Regions from separate parts of the Homo sapiens genome. Here region 1 is linked to region 2. Evidence: promoter capture Hi-C in human tissues and cell types (Jung and others, 2019). All regions are on one chromosome and are shown on one strand. The core of a region is centred on a gene start or on the middle of the fragment in contact, and the rest is flanking DNA. Distances in the headings are between cores, read along the strand shown.

What was found. The method cuts DNA at HindIII sites, captures the fragments that hold promoters and counts their contacts. A contact is called where the count stands out against the background at its distance.
Region 1: a fragment that was not itself captured here is called in contact with the fragment with the promoter of DYM in region 2 in 1 of the 25 tissues and cell types used here (lymphoblastoid cells).

Annotation. Positions count from the first base shown.
Region 1 is chr18:49,059,242-49,062,382 of GRCh38, forward strand. The region is part of intron 17 of DYM (dymeclin); the gene reads right to left. Among named protein-coding and RNA genes, the nearest start is that of MIR4744, 11 kb to the left of the region's middle. The HindIII fragment of the contact is 6,065 bases long and covers 1-3,141 here.
Region 2 is chr18:49,458,639-49,462,068 of GRCh38, forward strand. DYM (dymeclin) reads right to left here and starts at 2,007. Exons shown (of 18, transcript NM_001353214.3): 1 at 1,760-2,007. RefSeq lists a silencer at 1,406-1,985. The HindIII fragment of the contact is 14,393 bases long and covers 1-3,430 here.

The DNA.
Region 1 (3,141 bases), core at 300-2,799, 400 kb before region 2:
GTGGGCCCTCAGCAGACACCAAATCTGCTGGTGCTTTGATCTTAGACTTCTCAGCCTCCAGGACAGTGAAAAGTAAGTTCTGTTGTTTATAAGCCTCCCATTCCACAGTATTTGGTTATAGCAGCCCCAGCGAACTAAGACAAAAGGTGACCTGCTCACCCATGCATCCTTCTTTCCTTTTTATTAATATTTACATTATAACTGTAATCACTAGTGCTTTAACAAATACAATGGTGATACAAAATAATGGTCATCTTTGCCACCTGGTTGATGGGTCTGCATCACTGAGCTGTGACTGTACCAGGACCCTAACACAATGGTTGATCCTTAGCTGTTTTCCTGGCTGTTCCGGAAGTCAGGCCTGTAGCAAGGGGCTCAGCTGGCAGTTAGGGGCCCAGGTGGCTGCTACACAGTGTGGTGGTATGAGGGAGGGGGCTGTGCTGGGAGTCCTGCAAGCTGAAGGCTTACTCAGTACCACCGGAGACCCAACATCTTATTATGGAAAATTACCCATGCACACCAAAGTGGGGAAAATAATACAGTGAACACTGTGTGCCCATCAACCAGCTACAAGCCATTAACTCATGGGCACTCATTTAAGCTACCCCAACTTCCCTCCTCTGAATTAGTTTGATGTTAATTCTGGACATTATATATTTTCACTCTTAAATATTAACCTAATTAAACAGGTAAGAACATTTTACCCTGCTTTAAGAAAACCCAATATGAGAATAAAATAAATTATAGGGTGACGTTTTGTACCATAAAAGCATTTAATAAAAATATGAAATATGGTCCCTGCCCTTAAGGATCTTAACATTTACTTGGAGAGCTAAGATAAATGCAAATGAAAAAAAATCACTAAAAAGCAATCCTCTAACATAACCTAATGTTAGAAAGTACAATGCAATAATTGCCAGTTCTGATTTGTATGGACTCTGGAGTCTCCACAAACTGGGTGCCCAGGACCTCTGAGCTTCATTTGCTTCCTCTCCTTTAAGCAAACCATCAGCCTCTGCCAGGTGAGCTCCCTGGGGTCCCCTGCACACTTCAGGCAAATGCCCGCCTCCATGCCTTTTCTGACAGGTCTCTTTATAGCTAGGATGTCCTTCCCACCACACTTCCATTTCCTACAGTGCTGGTGCGGATGCTTCCCTCCCTCCAGAGTCTTAAGTGGTCCTCTCCAGTGCCCAGTATCTGCCTGCTTACAGCATTACCTGTATATTTCCTACAAAGTGCCTGGCTGGACATGGGTTTGGATAGTTTCCATTCACTACTGGACATAAATGATTTGAAGGTAGGCTCTCTGTGTGCCATGCAGCCCCAGGTCAGGCATTGCTGAGTGAGGAACAGTACCCTCTGCCACAGGGTGGCTTAGAGAAGGGAGGGGGGAGAGAGGGGGAGAGGGGGAGAGGGGGAGAGGAGGAGAGGGGAAGGGAGGGGGGAGGGGGGAGAGACGGAGGGGGAGAGAGGGAGGTGGGGGGAGAGAGGGAGAGGGAGAAGGAGGGAGAGAGAGAGAGAGAGGGGGAGAGAGGGAGAGGGAGAAGGAGGGAGAGAGAGAGAGACCGTGAAAAGTACAGTCAGGGGATGCTGGCAAGATAGTTCACCTGGGGTGGTCCTGATGGAGAGGAGAGAAGTGTAAGGCACTGCCTAGTCAGGGAAATTGTTCAGAAGCCTGGCTGAGAAAAAGATTTGAACCATCCCTTTCTGAGCAGTTCCTGGGTAGTGAGGGGGGCATGAACAAAAAAGTCCATAATAAAAACCTGATCATGTTACTCTGTGCTTAAAAAAATCTCAATGGCTTCTCAATGGAAACCACTGCCACAGAAGATACCAAAAAGTAGAGGCAGCGCCTCCGAACCATGGTGTTCATAATCTAGACATGGAGATAAAACATGTACAAAAATAACTATCAGACAAGATAGGAGGTGATAATATCATCTGAAGTGTGCAAATAAGTGTAATCTGTGGGGATCCAGGGAAGGGAGAAATTAAACTGGAAGCATCAAGAAAGGCTTCAAGGAGGAGAAGGCACCTAGGTGGTCTGTAAACAAAGGGTAGGATTTGGGCATGTGGAGGTGGGGGGAAGGGCATCCCAGGCAGAGGAATAATAGAAGCACAGACAGGGAGACAGAAAAGCACAAGGGTGCCCACGGACCAGCCGGTGTGTTTGAGAATAAGAGGGGGAATGTGAAAATAGCTTGGAAGGCAGGTTTATGGAGATCTGCTGAGACTGAGCCTAGACTTTTCTGCATACAAAGTGGGGCCACTCCACGCACCTGAGCAAAGCTGTGCCCAGGACCTCAGCGTGCTCTTGGGAGACTACTTGGGAAACAATGTGGTCCCTCTGGATGGGAGGGAAGCAGCCCTTGGAGGGGAGCAGCTGGGGGACTAGTGCAGGGTCTAGGCGATGGGGGCTGAGGGCCAGGACCCAAAGATGACAGTGGGAACAGAGGAGAGCTGGCAGTGCCACCAGGGTGAGTGGGCAGAGAGACTTGGCAGCTCTTCACAGCTGCCTCTCCCCAGAAAGGGAAGGAAATCAGGGCTGGGAAGGAAGAGATCTAGAAATGAATCCAAGAGCTTCCTCTGTAAATAGTCAAACTTCATATGTTTAGAGTCCAGTGACCTGTGTTGCTTTTGTTTTTCCCTAGAAACAAAAGAGCACACAAATAAAATTCTGTTTCCATCCTCCATCTGGCTCCATCCTAATAAGTCTTTATTTTTCTGATACGGTCTCTCTTTGAGCCAGTTTGCCTCTGGGAAAGGGTCTCTGTGCAGCTGACCTCATGGTGCCTGGATGTTCAGTTTAGCAGTAGCTGCAGAGACAAGCCTCCAGGCCTGATAGCCTCATAGCCCAGATTAAGCAAGCTGTCTGGAAGGCTTGTCAGAATTATAATTCTCCTGCCTTTATCTTCAAAGGTTAGAAAACGGGGAGAGAGAGACTGGGAGAAAGTCCCAATACACATTTCTGAAGGAAGGAGGTTTTACTTATTCTATACATTTTAATCTGATTGTCAGCCCTATAAATCTTACAAAACTAAAACAATGGCTTAGGAACAAGGGCAGACTCACTGTCACCAACGATTAACTTTCTGATCACAGTCTAGGAAGCACACTCTTATCTAGCCCAGCTCAGGACCT
Region 2 (3,430 bases), core at 757-3,256:
CCAGCCTGAGCAACATGATGAGACCCCCGTCTCTACTAAAAATACAAAAAATTAGCCAGGCATGGTAGCACGTGCCTGTAATCCCAGCTACTCAGGAGGCTGAGGCAGGAGAATTGCTTGAACCCAGGAGGCAGACGTTGCCGTGAGCCGGGATCACGCCACTGTACTCCAGCCTGAATGACAGAGCGAGACTCTGCCTCCCACCACCACCAACAAAAAAAAGCAATTCAATCTTCTACAGATATATATTGAAATATTTACAGATGAAATTGAATGTCTATGATTTGCTTTAAAATAATTGTGAGTGGGGATAGGAATGCATAGGGACATAGATGAAATTAAATTGGCATGAGTTAACTGCTGAAGCTGGGTAATGGGTACATGGGAGTACCCTTTATTATTTCACTGTGTGAACTTTTCTATGGTTAAAAGGTGCAAAAACATAAAAACTCCTTGACCTATATGTCGTAACAACACAGACTTCTTAATAGCTGAATCTCCTTCCTATTAACATTGCCCCAACTCAGTTCTCTGCCATTTAATCCACTTGCGACTGATAGTTTCATCAATTATTCCAACTCATTTTGCCCTATGTACTCAGTTTATGAGCTTAAGGCAGACACCTAACCTCTAAAAGACTAGTTCTTCATTTACAGAATGGGAATATTCATACTTGTCCGGTCTATCTCCAAGTTGCTGAGAGGATTATCTAAAATAAAACTTCAAAGCAGGATAATCACTCCAGAAATCCATATATTCATAAATTTCATCCTCTGCAACAACCATTCACCCATTCCTATAGATTCTCTTCCCTTCCACCTCGTTCTTCTCTTGAGCCCTCAACTCATCAGCCTAAGCACCTGAGTTCCTCTGGTGGACGCTACATTCCTCTCCACGGCCTCCACCCTCCAGGTTTTCATCCTTCAGCACATCACCCTTGCTCTACACACCCCTCTCTCCAACTTCCCCTCTCCTCTTTCAAGGAACTCACTCCATCTGTGCCCCCTAATCAGTCTATCCTGGGTACCCGCTTTGCTGGCCGATTACAATCATCCCATCACTTCTCTACCCCTGTTCAGTAGAGAACAGCTTTATCCAATCAGCTTTACCACACCAATACCCTCAAACCCCACTACTGCCCCCAGTTCACAAACACCCACCCTTTCACTTTTCAGTCAAAACACAATTGCTCAGGCAAATCCACGGCGACTGAAAGTAGATCAATAGTGTAGGGGAGAGAAGGAGGAGTGACTGCTAATGGGTACGAGCTTCTTTGGGGCGGGGGGGGCGGTGATTAAAAATGCTCTGGAGTTAAGGGTGGTGATGGCTGCTCAACCCTGTGAATATACTAAAAACCACTGAGTTGTACTTTTAAAGGGTTAATTTTCTGATATGTTAGTTATACCTCGATAAACTATGAATGTAAAAAGAAGAAAGAAAAACCCAACAGCTATTGCTCACCCTGCCCATCACACGCCCATTTGTCAGACCAACACCGCCCCATCTCCGGAAGCACCGACTTGGCCTTCGGTATCCCCCAACTCCCAACAGCGGACTCGGACAGAGGTCCGTCCGCTGTCAGCACAGCCCCTCCGGGTGGCCCAGGCGCCCGCGGGCAGGGAAGGGAGGGTCCCTTCGCCGCCGCCCCGGGGCGCTGGCCGGGTTGCGGAGGGTGGCCCCTGACCCCCTCTGACAGGAGGCCGGGGACAGCCAGGCTTTCGGGCCCGGCCGCGCTGAGGGGGGCGGCGCTACAGCCCACCTGTCTCAGCCGGCTGGGGGATCTGCTCCAGCTCCACGGACCCGCGGACGGATGGGAGGGTGGCAGAGGGGTCAGGAGAAGTCGCTGTCGCCGCCGCAGCCCAGGTGGCGCACACCGGCTCAGGCCTCCATGTTTCCACGTCTCAGCGGGTACAGATCCGGCTCCGGTCCGGCCTGCAGCTCGGCCCCGGCTCGGCTCCAGCCCGGGCCGCGTCGGTGCGGAGGCCAGGAGGCGGCGAGAGAAGAGGGAAGCGACCGAGAACGCGGCTAGGGACCAGACCCCCAGGCGCGCGCGCCAGCCAGGTGGTCACGTGGCACGCGGCGCGCGCGGGCTTCTGGAAACTGTAGTCCTTTGGGTGTTATTCGTGCCTCCGCCCTCCTAGTACCTCCTGGGCTACCGCAAAGCCACGTGGCGAAATCGAGAAGCGCAAAAACAGCCGTGCGCGGTGGCTCACGCCTGTAATCCCAGCACTTTAGGAGGCCGAGGTGGACGGATCACGAGGTCAGGAGATCGAGACCATCCTGGCCAGCATGGTGAAACCCCGTCTCCACTAAAAATACAAAAAGTAGCTGTTTGAGACAGGATAATCGTTTGAACCCGAGAGGCGGAGATTGCAGTGAGTCAAAAAGTAGCTGTCTGAGGCAGGAGAATCGTTTGAACCCGAGAGGCGGAGATTGCAGTGAGTCGAGATCGGGCCACTGCACTCCAGCCTTGCGACAGAGCTCGACTCTTCTCAAAAAAAAAAAAAGAGAGAGAGAGAGAAGCGCAAAAACCTCACCTGCCGGGTGCTAGAGTCAACCTCACCTGCCAGGTGCTAGAGTCCTCGCTCATGCTACACCGCTCGTTCTGGCGGCTTAACCTTATTAAGGCCTCTGTTAATTGCAGCTGAATAACCATCCCAAAGTCAAGCAATATTGTGTGGGATTCTGGAGAATTGAGAAATAGCAAAATAATTTTTGATGGAGGCAGCTGGCAGGGCTAGCCCTGCCTGCAAAGTTGTCGGAAAGGACAGGTCCCACGGGAAAGAGTAGCAATATGAGATAGTGCCAAAACTATGGAATTTGAAGTCAAATGAGCTGAGGTTTCCACACTGACGTCTTTGAGCAATTACTTCACCTCTCTCAGCCAGTTTCCTCACCTAAAATATATGCATGATGATGATTCTGCCATTACAGGAAATGTTGACATGACTGTAGTAATAACAATTCACATTATGGATTATTTTCTATTTGCCATGCACTATTATTTCGCAAAATGACCCTATGGAACAGATAGCACCGTTATTCCCATTATATAGTCAATATGTGCCAGTGTACTCTGTAAAGTACTATACAAATATTAGGTATTCTTTTCTAGCATAGACTGCCAGTAAATTCACTGAGCTTGCAGAATTATGACAGGAAAACATATTAAAACCCAAAGTAGACTGGGCCCTGTGGCTTATGCCTGTAATCCCAATACTTTGGGAGGCTAAGGTGGGAGGATCACTTGAGCCCAGGAGTTCGGAAGGACCAGCCTGAGCAACATAGCGATACACTGTCTCAACAAAAAATACAAAAATTAGCTGGGAGTGGTTGGCACACCCTCGGTCCCGGCTACTCGGGAGGCTGATGTGGGAAAATCGCTTGAGCCCGGGAGGTTGAGGCTTCAGGGAGCCATAATCTCACCATT